6 separate regions of the Homo sapiens genome follow, and all the other regions are linked to region 1. Evidence: promoter capture Hi-C in 16 types of primary human blood cells and fetal thymus (Javierre and others, 2016). All regions are on one chromosome and are shown on one strand. Each heading gives the region's core, a stretch centred on a gene start or on the middle of the fragment in contact. The rest is flanking DNA. Distances are from core to core; before and after follow the strand shown. Region 1 holds the start of GAB1 (GRB2 associated binding protein 1). Region 2 overlaps GAB1 (GRB2 associated binding protein 1). Region 3 has its middle 42 kb from the start of USP38. Region 4 has its middle 58 kb from the start of USP38. Region 5 has its middle 75 kb from the start of GAB1. Region 6 overlaps GAB1 (GRB2 associated binding protein 1).

Region 1 (3,047 bases), core at 184-2,683:
ATTTTGCTTTTGCAAACACATTTTACTAGAAAAATATTTGATCCAGATGTCAGCACAAAAGTGTCATTTCTTTCCTTTGCAAGGGAGCAGCAACAAAACAACCAATGGGGAGGAAGAATAAGATCCCAGACCTCTGAAGAGGACACAGGTTTCCACTAAAGCAAGGTTGATACTTTCAAGGAATATTTTTCCTAACAGCTAAAACGGTTTAACACATAGCATCTTGTATCAATTACACAAACACCATTAAAGCCACTCTGGTTCCCTGGGAAAGGACCGCAACTGAAATCCCTTCTGGCTTCAGCTGTCCCCTCCTGCCGAGTTTGACAGCACATCCAAGGCGCCCAAACACCAGCCACTAGGCTCCCCCCCAGCGCCCTCCTCTCGCAGCAAACCGCCAAGGCTCCCGGGCCAAACTCCAAAGTCCCTCAATTCAAAACCGCGAAAATGTGAACCCTGCTAAGCAAACGGCAGGGCGCGTAATAACTTTTCTTTCTTTCCCTTTTGCGCGCGTTCGATATGCTTGTCTCTACTACCAACTCCTCAGCTCCACAGCCCGCTTCCCGCAACCCATCTCGAGGGGCGGAGGAGAGGGAGCGCCCACCAAAGAAAGGGCTAGTGAGCCCTAAAACCTCGGCAGTTTTCCCGGTGCGGGAGCTTTAGCACACATCAGCCCAATAATCAGATGCAGGAATAAAGCAGGAAGAAGGCTCCTCTCTCCATCGCACCCCATCCTTCCTAAGGAAGAAAAAAAGCATGCAGCAGGAGTTTAGCTGGACGTCTAGGTCCTTTTATGGGGCGAACAGGCCCGCAAAGCAGGCTGTCTGGAACCTGGAGGAAGAAAGTTGTCCGGCCAAGTGGATGCCTGGGCGTGAGGGAGTGCAAGGCACCCTGTCCCGAGCCCGCCAGGGGTAGGGGCCAAGGGGAAAGAGACCGGCATTCGTTTAAGAACCAGCCCCGCGCGCGGCCAGCTGCAGCCGCCGGCGAGCCGACTGGGGAGGGGTGTGGACGCCGAGGCCCGCGGAGTGGTGCCCGCAGCTCTACTTACATAACGCTTCAACTTTTTCTCCGGGGGGGACTTGCGGAGCCATCCGGAGCAGACCACTTCACCACCGCTCATGGTGCGCGCGTCTCGGGCTCCGGGCCGGGCAGCTGAGGGGCGGCGGGCGCGCTCCCGACACAGCCGACGCCTGCCGAGCGCGCAGTGGCGAGAACCTAGCTCTCCTGGTCGCGCACCCCGGACGGACTGGGCGGACAGACTCCACGGTGCGCGGGTTCCACGAGTTCGAGTCTCTCCTCTGCAGGCCCACGAACCTGAACAGAACGCGAGCCGGGGCCGCGGGCGCGCCGGCCTCCTTTCAGTGCGCCCGCCTCGCCTCCAGACGTGCCGTCTCGCCAGCTGCCTCAGCAGCGCTCGGACTCAGCGGGACTCTGCCCCGACTCGGTGCCGGAGCTTCTGTCCTTTGCGCTCCGCCCCCTAGGGACAAGACCTCCCCAGAGCGCTTTCCGAAACAGACACAGCGCTGCTCACACACACACACACACACACACACACACACAATGCCCCGCGCGGTGCCCGCTCGCCCGCCCACCCGCCCTCGGTTTCGATGCGCCCGGAGCGATCCTCCTTCCCTCTCCTCGGGGGAGGGTGGGTCACTTCGCGGCGCTCGGTGAACGCCGAGGAAAGGGGAAGCCGCGAGCCGCCTACGGGCAGCGGGCGCGGGGCTGGTCCCGGGTCACAGAGGGAGCCGCAGGGTTGGCAGCGAAGCGCGGGGCGTTTCTGAGCGGCGGGCGCAGGGAGGTCGCAGGTCAAGCCGGAGGGTGGGTCCGCTCTCGCGGCCGCCGAAGAGGGCGGGGAGCAGCAGAGGAACGAGGCGCTTGGCGGCTTGGCTCCTGGGAGGGATCCCGCTGTCCCGTCCCCTCGCGCTCCTCCCCCGCCGCCTCCCCCACCCCGGGGCTCGCGGCAGGTCCTGAGCGGCTCGGCCCCAGATCCCGATCCCTCCCTCCCTCTCCCGGCCGCCGGGCTCCTTCTTCCTCCCTCTCCTCCTCCCCTTCCCACGTTCAGGCCCGGCTCCGGTTTCTGCCCAGACTTTCTCTGAAACTCCGCCGGAGTGCTTCCAGCCAAAACAACAAGGGCCGGGGGAGGAGACGGACGAAGGGAGGGAGCAAGGGAGGGAGGGAGCGCGAGTCCGAGAGGCACCCTGGGATCTGTAGTTCGGGAAGCAGGAGCAGGGTCCTCCGCCGTCCGGCGGCCCCCAATCGGCTCCTCGCCCGGGAAGACCGCAGAGGCCTCGGCTAGGGCAGAGGCACCGGGGCTTGGGCGCGGGGAAGACTGAGGGACATTCGAATGTTCAGTCCGGGGCTTGCCATCTTGACTCAGCCCGGTGCCAGCTCGGAGCTTGTGCTGTGCTCGAGATCAGGAGTTTCGAGGGTTTTCTTTACTTGAGAGCCTGAAAGGCAAAACCGCGGGGAGACCACCATCCTGCCGGTCCCCGCCGCGCGAGATTAAAGGACAGACCAAGAGGGCGCGGGAGCTACCAGCTTGGAGGGGAGGACAGATGGGGACCCAGGGCTGGCCAGGGCTGGTCTCTGGAGCTGTTCTGCCAGAGTGATGGGGGCGCTTGGCGAGGCCAAGGATTTGGTTGGGTCCTATCTCTGAGACATTTTGAAGTCTCACACCCCTTCCATTTGTTGCCTATTCCACTTAACTTTGTATTTGTTTGAAATCTACTGTTCGGATGCTGGACTAGAAGAGGGACACTTGGCCGGGCGCGGTGGCTCACGCCTGTAATCCCAGCACTTTGGGAGGCCGAGGCGGGCGGATCAACTGAGGTCGGGAGTTCAAGACCAGCCTGACCAACATGGAGAAACCCAATCTCTACTAAAAATACAAAAATTAGCCGGGCGTAGTGGCGCGCGCCTATAATCCCAGCTACTCGGGAGGCTGAGACAGGAAAATAGCTTGAACCCGGGAGGCGGAGATTGCGGTGAGCCGAGATCGCGACACTGCGCTCCAGCCTGGGCAACAAGAGCAAAACTCCGTCAAA
Region 2 (3,047 bases), core at 219-2,718, 120 kb before region 1:
CTATAAAATGAATGGTCATTTTAAAGGACCATACGCATTGAGGCTCATAAGTATTTTGTCAACTCACATATAATGAAGACCAAATTAACTTACTAATTTGAGCTGAAACCATTTTGCTTGTCTATATTCTTAAAATAGAAACATACAGAATATTCCGCTGAGTGAAAGTATTTCTTTAACTGTTAATGTTTTACTTTTTGACACCCAAAGGCTAATAGCAGTTTAGCTGTCAGTTTTTAAATAATGGCACAATTAATCCATGGAAATGATTCTTTATTCTGTCTCAGAACAGAACACATATACATAAAGACAGAAGACAACAGAAAATCACAAACAGTTCACAAACTGAAAGGATAAAATGTTGTCTACAAAGTTAAAAGAATAATGCAAAAGGACAAGTCTGAATATCACATATTATCAAATATTTAACATGCTGTTGTTAATGGCAGAGTAAGTAGACTCATTGTGTATTATGGGAAGCATTCACTTTAGAAATAATGTGCAGGAAAGTTTTATTTACAACAGCAGTAGTATTTAAGGTTCTTCTTTATTTTTAGAAAAAAAACAAAAAACATTACAAAATAAATTCCCAATGCCCCATACAGCATGCGGTGCTAAAGTACATACCCTTTCTTCTTGTAGCAAAGTCACCTATGGTTTGTGAATCAGTTCGCTCTAAACCATGGGGTTTGAGTCTTAAAATTTTAGGACTTTGACCTAATTGGTAAAAAGAAGACTCTCTTAATATAATGTTATTTATTAATTGGAAAATGGATTCTGTAAAAAAAAAAAAAAAAAAAAGCAACAGAGCCCTGTGCAAAAATGTTACATCTAAAAGCATGAACAAAAGTTTGTTGTGGAGAATATTTCAGTCTTGTTACATAAAATTCATGCTCATGCTCAGCACAATGGAAAAGAGGAATTTACATGCAACAATGTAAGCAGCAAGGAGGTATAAAAGATGGCAGGATTTTAGTGCGATAACCAGCCTGGTTAGTTGTTATCTTCATTTGGGGGAACAGAGGGAAAATATGTGCCATGTTAGTTTTTCTTCTAACATGTCTTAGAAAACTGGATCAAATAAAAAATTTGTAGAATACCCTAGTCAGATCTCAATTACATCTTTCTTTTCTTTGAAATCTGGTGTCTCATATGAAAGCCCGAAGGCCTACGTCCTTGTAATATTACTTTTCTAATTTGGTAGAGATGTTTTTAAAACCTTAATCTATTCCTGCACCTCCTGAACAAGACTCTTCTAGAGAAGCAAGTTGCCACTACTATATTTACTAATCTAAAACCAAAACAAGACCAGCATTTCTTTCCTCTGGATACTCACTGGTTGCCCAATGGCTTCATCTTGCAAGAATTACATGTTTAGATTCTGGTTCTACTGATTGCCTAGCTTCAGTTTAATTAAGTATATTTCTGAAAGCATAAATTCAGTTACCATCATCTTCCTTTCACTTAATGTCTGCCACATAAAAGCACTGCTGAAAAGCCTATGAAAGGGCATCCTTCCCATTAGAAGCCTGGATGCCAGAGCTGCAATATCATTTGAACCAGTGATTTAAGCTACTCCATTATTAGTGGCACTAAATTTTCTTTTTTCTTGGAATTTACAAAGTTGAGTTTACATCTATTAGGTGGCAGAATCAGAATTTGCTGGTTAAGTGCTGATATCTAGCACCTTACCTATCGAAATCTAAGTTTCTTAAAATATAATTCTGTAGAAGTTATAAAAAATAAAATTTCCTAACCAATTTTCTAAGTTACACAATACATTGAGTTTATTCAGAAATGAGGCAGCCTGAGTTTAAAAGGTAAATACTAAAATTTTGGGCAAGATCCACTCCCTACCCCTAAAATTCCCTAATCCAGGGCCCATACCCGCAGGACCCTTTTCTAAAGCAAAGGAAGATGACAACTTTTTTTTTTTTTTTGAGACGGAGTCTCTCTCAGTCGCCCAGGCTAGAGTGCAATGGCACAATCTTGGCTCACCGCAAGCTCTGCCTCCCAGGCTCATGCCATTCTCCTGCCTCAGCCTCCCAAGTAGCTGGGACTACAGGTGCCCGCCACCACGCCTGGCTAATTTTTTGTATTTTTAGTAGAGGTGGGGTTTCACCGTGTTAGCCAGGATGGTCTCGATCTCCTGACCTTGTGATCCACCCGCCTTGGCCTCCCAAAGTGCTGGGATTACAGGCGTAAGCCACCGCGCCCGGCTACGATGACAACTTTTTAAACTCCCCCAAATAGTGTGCTACCCTTCAAAAAAAATAAGAGGCAGAAGGTAAGTCTTAGTATTAAAATAATATGATTATTTTGGAGTGAAAGGCCCTTACAAATCTAGTTTCTTCATTTTATGAATGAGATTCATCCAAAGAAAGAAGGGGTTAAGTGATTTGTTCAGGTTACACTTTAACCGGAGGCAGAGTTGAGACTTCCTCTAGCCTGCCACTTGCTGGTGTGGCACTCCTGTTCTATACCACACTGTCTTACCTTTCCAGACCTTTAGGGATATAGAGAATCTTAGGAAATTTAGCTGGATACTATGTTGGAGCTGCTTGGAGTTCAGTTTTGAACTCTCCATTGCGGCTGGAGATCTTGCAGCACTCTGTGCCACACAGTCACAAACTAAGGAAACCAAGTAGAGAAAGGAAGAAATGTGCTCATTCCTACACTTATGTCTATAGTTGATACTACTCTGAATTTACAGATGTGGCTTGGGGGGACATCTACGTGAATGCCACAGAGAGCTGACACACCAGTGATACCAGGTTTAATTACAAAATGCTCTTAGAACTTCTTTTGGTTTGCTGCTCTTGACCTAGTATGTGAGATGCACTCCTCCTTGTCTGAAAGATCCGTTTTCATTAGCTCTCCAGCTCCCTCCTGATTTTTTTCACCATAGTTATCTCCCAGTGGTCACTCTTTGCATTTCTCAGCTTTGCTACCCCAGTATCTTATCTAAGTTTGTGGTTAAATAATCAAGGTCACATGACTGCTAAATCTTACCGAGTTATGGTTTCTCACTTTTTCTCTAGTTCCAC
Region 3 (3,047 bases), core at 408-2,907, 110 kb after region 1:
ACAGATGTACCATTTTGTGGCTTTGTATTTTATTATTATTATTTTTAATTAGAGACGATGTCTCACTAAATTGCCCAGACTGGTCTTGAACTCCTGGGCTCAAGTGATCCTCCCACCTTGGCCTCCCAAATTGTTGGGATTACAGGTGTGAGCCGCAGCACCTGGCCCATATTTTATTCTTAATGGAGTTTTTGATGAAAAGCTTTTCATCTTAATGTAATCCATTTTATCACTGTTTTCCTTCATGACTAAGGATTTTTTGGTCCTGTTTAAGAAATCTTAACCATACACCTAGATTTTGAAGATGTTCTAAGTAATCTCTTTGATGTGTTATTTTGCCTTTCAGTTTACAGTTAAAATCCACTTGAAATACATTTTTTATATATAGTGTGCGGTAAGGGTTTTCTTTTATCTTACATGATTACCCACTGTACCACTAAAATTTATGGAAAAGACCATCCTTTTCACACTGAAGTGTCACCTTTGTCTAGGGGCCAAGTCATTGCAGTTTGCCTGGGACTTTCTTGGTTTTAGCTGAAATTTCTATGTCTTGGGAACAGCCTCAGTCTCAAACAACTAGGATGGTCACATTATTTTTGTCATAAATCACATATGCATGTAAGTATGGGCGTATTTCTGATAAGTCCCCTTATCTTAATTATTTTAGCTTTATAAGTTTTATCTTGTAAAGAAAGTCATTCTACCTTGTTCCTCATTTCCAAGAGTCTTGACAATTTTTGGACTTTTTCCCTTTACATTTCCGAATCAGCTCAATACAAAATAGAATTCCCAGATTGGGATTGCATTGATTCTACAGACTGGGAAAAGTTGGCTATTTATTTTGAGGACAAATTAGGTATTTATAATATTGAGTCTTCCAAGCCATAATTTATCTAGGTCTTCTTTAACTTCCTAAATAATGTTTTATGGTATTGTGTGGCAGTCTTATGCATCTTTTATTTCTAAAAAGCTGTTTCTAGATTTCTAAAAAATTGATTTTTTACATTATTGTCAATATTTTAAAATTTCATATTCTAATACCTGTCACTGGTGTATAAATATACCCTTGAACTTTGTATATTAACTTTGTATTTAGGAGACTTGCTAAACTCAATTCTAGAAGTTTATGTGTAAGTTAAAGATTCTTACTTTGGATTCTACATAAACAGGTGGCTGGGTCACAGGCTGTAGTTTGCCCATCTCTGTGTTAGTCCATGTTTATACTTCTTTTCCTGGGAGTCTTTGTCTGTACAGTGTGTGTTTGATGCACAGTGGATGCAGCAGGAGGTCCAAATTGCTGCTCATGGGCAGTGTGTCTTGAGCTTCCCAAAACTGTCCCTGCTTTCTTGTTCTGGAAATTGAGTCAATGGTGCCAAATCCATTTCCAAATCTTCCTTCCTTTTTGTAGATCCAAATCTCCACCTGGTATGCTCTCTTCAGCCTGAAGAATTTTAACCTATCTTTTAGTGCAAATATTCAAGAAAAAAATTCTCTCAGCTTTTGTCTAAAAATATCTATTTCCCCTTCATGTTGAATGAATCTTCACTGGATATAGTGAGTATTCACTAGGTTGACTTTTTTTCCCTTCTGCACTTTTTAGATGCCATTCCACCATCCTCTAGCTTTCATATTCTGATAAAATGACTGGTCTTTTGTTTCTCTATATCAAGGATCAGAATTTTTAAATGTACCACAGTAAATATTTTAGGCTCTGCAGGCTGTATGGTGATATGGTTACACCATAATCAATCTCATCTTGGATTGTAATTTCCAGGTGTTGAGGAAGGAACCTGATGGGAGGTGATTGGATCATGGGGATGATTTCCCTCATACTGTTCTCAGGATAGTGAGTTCTTACAAGATCTGATGGTTTTATAAGGCAGTTTTCCCTGCTCTCTCTTGCCTGCCACCTTGTAATACAAGCCTGCTTCCCCTTCTGCCATGACTGTGTTTCCTGAGGCATCCCAAGCGATGCAGAACTGTGAGTCAATTAATCCTCTTCTTTATAAATTACCCAGTCTCAGGCAGTTCTTTATAGCAGCATGAAAACAGACTAATATATATGGTCTCCGTCATAACTACTCAGCTCTACCATTGTAGTGTAAAAACAGCCATACACAATAGGTTACAGGTATAGCAGTGCTCCAATAAAACTTTACTTACGAAAAAGCAGGACGCAGGATAGACTTGGTCTGTGGGCTCTGTATTGTTTGCTGACCTCATATTCTTTTCCTCTGGGTGCTTTTAATTTTCTCTTGGATAACTGACTCTCAGATCTTCCATTTTTCTCTTCACTGTGCTCATGATTTTCTACATTCCTCTTAAGCTCCTACTTTGCAAATTCCTTTCTTTCCATAATTTCTGGATTTTTCTCCTTCTTTGAATGCCTCAGACTTTTTGATCAGATGCTGGATACTGTGAATTTTACTTTCTTAAATGCTGGGTATGTATACTGCATTTCCTTAAAAAGGTTGCCATTTGTTCTGTATGCAGTTAAATTACTTAAAGAATTTAACCAGCATTAGAATTTGATCCTTTTAAGACCTACTTTTAATCTTTGTTGGGTGTAAACTTTATACTGTAAAGGATTAGCCTTTACTCCAGTGTTAATTTAGCCCCATTGCTAAGCCATGGCCTTCTCAAAGAGAAGCACAATACACACCTCAGGATAAAGGCGGAGACTAATCAGCTTGGGAAGTCAGTATGAGAAGATATGAACATACTGAAGAGTAGGAGGTCATTAGTCCGCTGAAAGCTGGGAAGAGAAAGTAGCGTAAGGGGAATGGTATGCTATCCTGAGACCTGAATGTGCAAAGGTCTCGAGATGGCAAGTATATGGTGCTGTGTGAAAAAAAATGATGCAAGGTCCAATATGCATGACAGAGGGCATAAAGGCAAGAATGGAAGAGATAAGCCTAGTAAAGCAAACAGAAACTACGCGGGTAAAACAAATGAGTTTAAGAACCACATTTCTCAACCCTTTAGATTATCACATATAGGTTTTAACAAAGTAGATCTTTTTTTTTTTTTTCTTAAGGAATCATGTT
Region 4 (3,047 bases), core at 410-2,909, 94 kb after region 1:
TGAAAGAAAGGAAGAAGCTGAGCCAGGAATGCACGGGTTTAGCTTTTTATTTTCCCTGAAGTTTGCTACTCAGATGAAGCCACATTTTAAAGTGAATTCCATTGTGGAGTGGAGAGAGGCCAGAAATATCACGTCTCCACGTGGAAGGAAACATTAAGACTAAGGAGTTTCCCCTTCCAACTTGCATGAGACATGGGGTAGATAGGAGAATAATTTTAGTTTTCATTTTATACCCCTTTGTCTCTTTACACCTGTGTGAAGCTTGTAATTATATTTTTAAAAAGCTTGGGAAGAATATGAATAGAAGATGGGAGGTGAATGAGGGTTTACTGGGTGCCTTACCTTTTTGTTGGCTTATTTTTGTTCCTATTCTACCCCACTTTCATTCCCCCTAGAAATTTTGTTTGAACCAAATAAGGAGGGGAGATTATGAAAAGAGTAAAGAAGAAAGGATTAAATGCCAGCCCAATACTATAAGTCAGTTCTCCTAAATTTTATCTTCAAATGCCCATTGTCTCTAATGCAGCAGCCACACCTCATTCCACTCCTATAGAGTTATCTTTATTTTGCCCACAAAGACTTAGGCCTGAGATGACATCTCAGCCACCCTGACTTGTTTTTTGGATTCTCAATACCTTTTTCCTGTAAATAAGTTCTAACAAGAGAGAGAATTTGGGGAGGAACTTCGAGCTCCCCAGACTCCTGCAGGTTACTCCAGCAGTGCTGGTTTGATGCCCATGACTCTTCATTCCCTTTACTCTCCCTACTCCATTGCACTGGAGAAAAATTTCTCTGACTCACAGAACTAAATATCCCTTCTTCTTCCATTTGTCAGGTGATCAAGAACTTGGGATTCATGTTGTGTTTATCTGTGTGGTAGTTACACAGGTCTATACATATGTGAAAATTTATTGAGTTGGATACTTAAGATGAGTGCCCTTTATTCAATTTACTATATGTGTATTACCCATCAATTAAAAAAAAAACTAGCCTTTAATTTTTTGGCAGTTTCTACCTCTGCCCAAAACCAGCACAAGAACAAGTGAGGCCTTTCCACTAACCTTTTATTCTGGCAACACCTTGAAAGCGGGGCTTTCGAACACTCCATAATCTACCAGTGTTTCTTGGTCTTTTAAATATTTATTTTCCCCAAAACTTACTGTTTTCAGCATACAGTTAACTTTTATCTTCCCTAGACATTTCTAACTTTGACTGGAATCCAGAAAATCTAGAATCCAGAAAAAAAGATTGTTACATTTTGCCAAAACAACAACAACAACTTCTGCATGGCAAAAACACCATGAATAAAATAAAAATATGCATGAAAGGTAAACAAAAATGGAGAAAAGTATTCACAACCCAAATCACAGGCAAAGGGTTCTGCCCCTAATATAGAGTTCTAACCCAGAGGAACAACAACCCAATAGAAAAATGGGCAAGGGATATGAACAAACAGTCCCATGAAATATAGAGCCCCAAATACATGAACAGATGCTTATCCTCACTCACAAGAAGAGAAATGAAAGTGGAAACTACACTGAGATATTATTTTTCAAGCTGTCGGACTGAATAAAATTCAAAGGTTACATACCACATGGTGTTAGCAAGGCTGGAGGAAACAGACTCTACCATACATTACTTGGGAAGGTACATTTTCTTGCTTTCATAGGGGGCAGTTTAATAGTACTTATCGCTATTGTTACAAATATATATGCCCTTTGACTCAGAAGTTCCATTCCTAGGAATTTAAGTGCGAATACACTTTAGACAGGCAAAATTATGCTTATTCAAGGTAGCATCATTGTTTGTAATCGTAAAATATTATAAATTACTTAAACGTTTATGATAGTGGTCTGGTTAAATAAATAATAATATACATTTACAATAGAAAACTAGCCAGCTACAAAAAAAAGGAGAAAGTTCTTTTTGTTTTAATATGAAAACCATCTAAGTTTTTGTTGAGTGAAAAAGAAAAGATGAGTAGAATAATGTGCAAGGCTATGGTAATGCTTGTGTAAAGAAGGAGGGTAAAAGAGTATCTGTGTATATATATCTTAACCCATTTATTCCTGAGGTTGCAATTTTTTTGAATTTTTGGAATCAGACCTTGGCAATGACCTTCAGTAGTAGGATGTAAGTAACTCCCACATGCTTAATGTTCCAATAATGGAACACTAGGCATAAATGGGTTTTAATATGTGCACAAAATTACTCTGGAAGTATAACGAAGAAATGAAATAAAGATATTACCCATGGGGGTGTAAGGGAAAGACATTTCATTTAATTTTTTAAAAAATGTTTAAACCTTATGAATGTATTACCTATTCAAAGCAAAACAAACAAAAGCTATCTTGACATTTGTAACCCTCCTTTGTGGCCCATAATGGCTGAAATATGCACAGACTTATGTCAGGTTCTAACTGAAGTCCAAGGGGAGTTGGTAGGTGAGTGGCAGGTAGCTGGAAAAACACTTGAGGAATGGTAGACAATTTTGACAGGGCTTTACTCTCTCTCTGGGCACAAGTGAGCTATATGTACAGTGTTAGCAGGGTAATTATACATTTTACAGACATTAGTGACTGTGAGCCAAGCACAAGCTCACATGGGTGATCACCTAATGCACCTCACATGGCATGGTTACCTAATGTGGGGGGTTGTGTGCCTGCACTCCAAACCCGCTGAGTCATGCTGCACCAGAAAGCAGCCTTGGCCTACTCCTGATTAAAGCACAGCCATTTCCCTTATGACTTAGTTTATCACCAGAAAGAGCTAAGTATTCCTCAGAGCCAATTATTAACACATTCAGCATTTAGAGGTGGATGAAAGGATAGAAAATATCTACTTTTGTTCCTCTTGTGTTGCTTTTCAATCTGAGTGTATGTCCCCATTTATGAGGCTGTAGAAATTGTCCCTTTGTTTCCTTCTTTGCTTTTCTGTTCCTCTGCTTCTATGGTCCTTACCCTATCTCCTGGTACTGGGGTCCTTTTTGATCTACAGCCTCTTAAAAGGAAAAAGCCTCAGATAAAAAGCTTTTCTCTTGCTCATAC
Region 5 (3,047 bases), core at 374-2,873, 75 kb after region 1:
AATATGTAGAAAGACATTCATTAAAAGCGTTAGTCAGCAAATCTGGGGAGTTGGAGGAAACCAGAATTTCCTGCCCCCTACCCCAAACCCTCAAGATGCCTTTGGGGACCCTTTTCAGTTTAATGCCTGTACAGCCTGGATGTGAAGCTCACATGATTCTTATCAAAGACTAGTAACTGACATCTTAACTTCTTCAGCTTCCCAGGAATTCATATTTACCCTCAAAGAGAATGCTACCCTACAAACATATCACATTTCATGTTAGCTGTGGAATACTGCCTTTGAGGCACTCAGTGCAGGCATGCCACTGACACAAACCCTCACTGAACACATGTTCTCCTATCAAGGATGAAGGGCATGTTGTTGTTGCTTATTTCCTCGTATCTCTTATCCATTCTAGACTATAAGCAAAACACACAAAGAACTGTGCTAATTGTTCTTTTCTTTCTTTTTCTTTTCTTTTCTTTTTTTTTTTTGAGATGGTGTCTTGCTCTGTCGCCCAGGCTGGAGTGCAGTGGCACTATCTCGGCTCACTGCAACCTGCACCTCTCGGGTTCATGCCATTCTCCTGCCTCAGCCCCCCGAGTAGCTGGGACTACAGGTGTGTGCCACCACACCTGGCTAGTTTCTTGTGTTTTTAGTAGAGACGGGGTTTCACCGTGTTAACCAAGATGGTCTTGGCCTCCTGACCTCATGATCAGCCCGCCACGGCCTCCCAAAGTGCTGGGATTACAGGCACGAGCCACCACGCCCAGCCGGAACTGCGCTGATTTTCCTATCCATATCCATCTTCTCTCCAGCCCCTACCACAATACCTGACACACAAAAGGAGACACTGGTGGGGGTGGGAAGGAGTAAAAAATGTGAAAGAACTTGTTGTTTCCCAAATAACTTATAACTTTGATGAGGAAGATTAATGGATAAATAACTATCAATAATGTAAGTCATTCAAATAAATACTAGAAAGAGGGTAAAAATTTTAGCCGTGGTAGTCTCCAACACAGAGAAGTTAATCGCTAATTTATGGGATCAAGGAAAGCTTTACAAAGAAGCAGGTTTTCAGCTGCCTGTGGAATAATGTAGTCTAGTATATGGGAAATTCTTTCTCTAGAGTGCATTCCCCTTTTCTTGACTTCTGTTCTTTTTTCCAAAAAAAAGAAAGTCTTATAAATTCTTCCTGTTACTAAGGGTCTGCTTCCTGTGGAAAGTCCTGAATAGCATTTAATGATTTATAAACAAGAACTTCTGTGTGATAATAATGGATCCAGATCTGGGTGCTTAAGTTGGGAATAAAAATATTAACCAAATTTTCAACACAAATACTTCTCCAAGGCTTTTGGGAGTCTGGTTTGGTTTAAGCAATTTGTTTTTGGCTCATAAGTAATCTCAGATGGTAGCAGCATTTCCAATTAGATCTTAGTCCTGCTGATTATAATTCATTTATGGTGTGAACATTTTTTAAAAAATTAGATTTATAGTGTTATTGAATTCTCCAATGACCAAGAGAAATTACATAGATTTCAGTAATTGGATTTTCTAGCTGAAAGGCTATTAACTCTCTAAAGAAGAGAGAGAGAATATATAACAAATCCATTTAAACTCTGTTATATTTTTGTAATAGGACTGCACAGTATCATAAAATATTTTGTAAAGTATTACCAAGTTTTTTGGGGACCATTTCACTAATCTTTATCAGGAACCTGGTTGCAAAGGTGGGAAAGAGAGTAATCATATTCTTTTTTCCTTAAGTAATTTTTCAGCATAGAAAGTAACTTGCTACTTATCTCACAGCAGACCAGTAGCAGAATCCTCTATCTTATACTGTGTTCTTGTTTGGTGGCTATAAAAAAGGTTTTAAAAATCTTTGCTCCTAATAATCAAGTTTTTATTAGCCACTCTGAAAATGAGAACATGGGGTGGGGGTGAAAGAGTTGAAATGAATGTCTTTAAAAAGGCAAGAGAAGGTGAGGAAGATGAAGTCTACTTGACGGGAACAGAATTTCTTGAGGCAACATGTAAGCCCTTATAGTTGGCCCGCACCACCAAAATAGCCTGCATCAGAAGAGACCATGACCTTAGGGTGTTGGGTGACTAAGAAAGAGCTGTGGCATGGCTGGATACGTGAGGGCTGGTTGAGTGGACTAAACAGTTCCAGGCCTTTCCTCCACCAGACATAGTTTCTGTCCTGTTACTGTCAACAAAGCTTACTAGGGGAAAAACATTTATTGTCTGTACCTTACAATTAGCATTCATCTACTCCTGTGGTGTTGTTACACCAAGAATCTCCTCAAACAGATTGCAGTCTCTTTTGGGGCAAGGACCAAAGCTTACAGATTGTGCCTCCACAGGATTTGGTACAATTCTTTATACAAGTTAGGAAGTTAAATTGTATTAGTACATTCTTGCACTGTTATAAAGAAATATCTGAGGAGGGGTGACTTATAAAGAAAAGAGGTTTAATTGGCTGCAGACTGTACTAGAAGCATGATGCATCTGCTTAGCTTCTGGGGAGACCTCAGGAAACTGGTGGAAGGCGAAGGGGAAGCAGGCACATCTTACATGGCAGGAGCAGGAGAAAAAGAGAGAGATGGGGAGAGGTGCTACACTCTTTTAAATAACCACATCTCACAAGAGCTCACTTAATAACAGCACCCAGAGGGATGGTGTTGAACCATTCATGAGAAACTGCCCTCAAGATCTGATCACCCCTCACCAGGCCCCACCTCCAACATTGGGGATTACAATTGAACATGAGATTTGGGTGGGGACACAGATCAAACTATATTGTCAATAAATATCTTTTGATGATATTTCATTTAGCTTAGATGTCAGGGATGTCCATGGTGTTTATCTCTGGCTCAAGACAATTCCAATTTTTTTGAGGGCCGATGCAGTCCCCTTTCCCAGCTGTGACATCTTAACTTCTTCAGCTTCCCAGGAATTCATATTTACCCTCAAAGAGAATGCTACCCTACAAACATATCACATTTCTTGTTAGCTGTGGAATACTGCCTTTGAGGCACTCAGTGCAGGCATGCCACTGACAC
Region 6 (3,047 bases), core at 244-2,743, 71 kb before region 1:
CATTCTTCATCTTCTTATATTAATATCTTCTGCTCATGCCAATGCTGTCTCTATCTTCCTATTTTTGTTCACAATATTTACCACTAGCAAATATCTTTCAAACCCAATTCATTCTTCAAGGTTCTTTTTTCCCAACCTTCCCCTTTCCTCCCCACACCCTACCTTCCTACCACTGACAATCAATTACTGCTCTGTAATATCTCTTGCATTGCTGTAGAATAGATTGGAACAGTCTATTATTTTACATTTCCAAACTCTCCAAATACTTATGAATTATTTTCCCAACTGGACATTAAGCTCCTTGAAAGCTAATTCCTTTTTTTTTTTCTATCTGCAACAGCACTTCATGCATTGTAAGTGCTCAAAGCCTTGGTGAGATGTTGTCCATCAGAATAATCATCACAGACAGCCACTGAGACTAAATGAAAAGATTTCAGAGCGGGGGGGGGGAAAGTTCAAAGTTGTTATTGAAGTCCAAACTCCTTCAGTAAGATAGCATACAAGGTTCTTCAAAACCATACTTACCTGTCTCATCTCTCCAATCTCTCACCTCCACAGATGGCCTCAGACAGCACCCACATGGTCCTTGTTTCTTTTTCAGTCTGAAATACCTTATTTCCCTCACCATGAGCTCCTACTCATCCTTCAAGACCTAGCTCAAGACCTGTTCTTTAAAGCTTTCCTCAACTTCCCCTGAGATAAGGCATCAGCTCCTGTTCCTTTGAGCTCTCAGCAACATCACGCAAGTAGTCCATTAACAAGCCCATTCCCTTAAGCACTTGAAAAAGAACTCTGCTGACTGCATCTTGGGGTCTCTTGGTAGTTGTTAAGCCCTAACAAAGTATACCTTGTCCAGATAGCTGAAGAGCAATACTTTCTACATTCCTGAGCCAACTTCCCTTCTACCAGGAAGCTCCACCACTGTAATTTTACTAACCCGCTCTTTTCCTGAGAAAGTGTGGGGAAAAAAGTAGAGCGGAATTTTTTATTTTGAAATCTCTTAAAAGGTATTTCACAACTGATATTTAAGGAAAGACCATTATTGTGACTTCTTTAGTAGAATTCAAAATTTCAATATACTCTCAGAAATCTGTAAAATGTCGGGGTTGAAGATGTGCGTTTCACAAAATGAAAATGCTATTTTTGATAAGATAGGTTGTAATCTAAATTTTATCAGCAGGATAATGGTCAAATAAATTATGGGACATCTACACAATAAAGCTAGGCAATTCATTCAAAAAGTGACATGGATATATATACATGAGCAATGCCCACAAGATAACTGTTAAGTAAAAAAAACAAGGTGCGGAATTGTACACATGGTATATACTTCCATTTGTGTGAAATAACTGTGTGTTTGTACAAACACAGCACAAACTGTGTGTTTATACAAACACACACTATGTTTAGAGAACAGGTCTGGAAGGACACATACTAAGTTGTTAACTCTGATAACTAAGAATAGGTCAGATGAAAGGGCCAGATGAGTCTCATATTTTACATACTTTGTTTTTTCAAAATGTTTCCATTTATTGCTTTTATAATTTTAAAAAATTGTATGTTTAAAATAACCTAGGAATGATGTGCACAAAACAAAAAGTTTATGTGTATATGGAAATGCTATTTTATTATTACTCTGCAATTAGTGAATGGATATTTAACCTTTCTTTTAAATATAGAATTCCGGGATACATGTGGAAGGAGTCTCAGCCAGGAAACAGCCTAGACAGATAAAGAGTCACGACTTTATTTTAAAGACTGGCACTTAGGGGGTTAAACAAACAAACAAGAAAAGTTGGGAACACTTAAAATAGAGGAATAAATTTATTTTTCTTTCCTTAAAGTCATTATAATATATTGCTTTAATTTTCTCTAAAAACCATGCAGTAAATGGTAATACATTGAAATATTTAAAAATCTAAAATAAGCACTTTAGGAATTACTTTGCCTATTAAAAATATTTCCATAATACTATTACTAGGGTAAATAAAATAAAGAAAAACAAATTAACCATGAAGCAGGGACAAAGGAAAACCATTTGCTTTAAAATACTTGAGTTGTTTTCCAGGAAGCACCATCTTTTCTCATAGAGCAAAATAAGGAAAAAACAGGCTCGGTGGAAGTTTCCACTCCACTGGCTCTATCATTATGATCATCTGTTCCAAACACACAGAAGCCTAAAATTTCCTGTTTTCAAACTGTTGTCACCATTTTCTAGCCTTGTGCTATCCGAGCTAACTTTAGCTTAGTAATATAAACAAAAGAATACACTGAAAATAATGCAGAACAATGCCTAGATCTAAGCTTTCAACTGTTCCATAAACTTAAGATATTAGAGTTTACGTACATTGCCTGGATACAACAAATTAGTTGGAAATAAAACAATTTCATAAGAGGAAAAAAATCAAATTTGACTCAGAAATACTATACTAGCTAGGGAAAGAGTTCAGGAATTTTGAATTCTCAGTAATAGTGCATATAATTTACTTGTTGAAATTACTGCTAAATTAATGCCTACCTCAAAGCCTAGGCATAAGCACTACATAAAATAAACAAAAAGCCAAAAAAAAAAAGCAATGACAAAAACCCCTTAGTATTTAATATACATAGGTGGTTCTTAAACCTTTTCTGGGTCATAGACGGCTTTGAGCATCTGATTAAAGCAATGAAAACTTTTCTTAGAAAAAAGGTATATAGGTAATATTGTATAGTTTCAAGGTTTCACAGGACCCCTGTTAACACGTTAAGAACCCTGAAAATAGGACTTGACTTTAATACATCTTACTACAGAGACAATTTGGTATGAGGCTGGTCTGCCTTGGACCCCAATTAGGTAAATTTATTTATTAGGTTCCACAGGAAAGTATGTCACCTCATGGCTGTATTAATTCTAAATACAGCACTGTGGGGCAAGCTAAGTATATTTTTACTTGAAAGTACCATTTCACTTCTGTCCTCATATTCCCAATTGTTGGGGCTGTGCCCACACTCTAACTCTGGTGGTTTTGCAAACTTTCTTACCCTAACCAAGAGGAGACGGAAAAAGT

The links. The method cuts DNA at HindIII sites, captures the fragments that hold promoters and counts their contacts. A CHiCAGO score of 5 or more calls a contact.
Region 2: a contact is called between a fragment that was not itself captured here and the fragment with the promoter of GAB1 in region 1, in 1 of 17 cell types (neutrophils). The highest score is 8.2, in neutrophils.
Region 3: a fragment that was not itself captured here is called in contact with the fragment with the promoter of GAB1 in region 1 in 3 of 17 cell types (neutrophils, monocytes and megakaryocytes); the score reaches 9.7 in neutrophils.
Region 4: a contact is called between a fragment that was not itself captured here and the fragment with the promoter of GAB1 in region 1, in 1 of 17 cell types (neutrophils). The highest score is 7.9, in neutrophils.
Region 5: a fragment that was not itself captured here is called in contact with the fragment with the promoter of GAB1 in region 1 in 1 of 17 cell types (neutrophils); the score reaches 5.8 in neutrophils.
Region 6: a fragment that was not itself captured here is called in contact with the fragment with the promoter of GAB1 in region 1 in 3 of 17 cell types (neutrophils, naive B cells and total B cells); the score reaches 10.1 in neutrophils.

The regions. Positions count from the first base shown.
Region 1 is chr4:143,335,262-143,338,308 of GRCh38, reverse strand. It overlaps GAB1 (GRB2 associated binding protein 1), which reads right to left and starts at 1,433. Exons shown (of 10, transcript NM_002039.4): 1 at 1,049-1,433. The coding sequence starts at 1,120. It also overlaps the pseudogene LOC124900789. RefSeq lists enhancers at 694-1,507, 2,417-2,626 and silencers at 1,537-1,586, 1,657-1,716, 1,817-2,116, 2,057-2,224. The HindIII fragment of the contact is 8,165 bases long and covers 1-3,047 here.
Region 2 is chr4:143,455,350-143,458,396 of GRCh38, reverse strand. All of the region lies in intron 6 of GAB1 (GRB2 associated binding protein 1), which reads right to left. Among named protein-coding and RNA genes, the nearest start is that of SMARCA5, 57 kb to the left of the region's middle. The HindIII fragment of the contact is 7,383 bases long and covers 1-3,047 here.
Region 3 is chr4:143,225,133-143,228,179 of GRCh38, reverse strand. No RefSeq gene overlaps it. Among named protein-coding and RNA genes, the nearest start is that of USP38, 42 kb to the right of the region's middle. The HindIII fragment of the contact is 2,906 bases long and covers 205-3,047 here.
Region 4 is chr4:143,241,713-143,244,759 of GRCh38, reverse strand. No RefSeq gene overlaps it. Among named protein-coding and RNA genes, the nearest start is that of USP38, 58 kb to the right of the region's middle. The HindIII fragment of the contact is 2,745 bases long and covers 287-3,031 here.
Region 5 is chr4:143,260,022-143,263,068 of GRCh38, reverse strand. No RefSeq gene overlaps it. Among named protein-coding and RNA genes, the nearest start is that of GAB1, 75 kb to the left of the region's middle. The HindIII fragment of the contact is 1,164 bases long and covers 1,042-2,205 here.
Region 6 is chr4:143,406,790-143,409,836 of GRCh38, reverse strand. The region is part of intron 1 of GAB1 (GRB2 associated binding protein 1); the gene reads right to left. Among named protein-coding and RNA genes, the nearest start is that of MIR3139, 65 kb to the right of the region's middle. The HindIII fragment of the contact is 1,627 bases long and covers 680-2,306 here.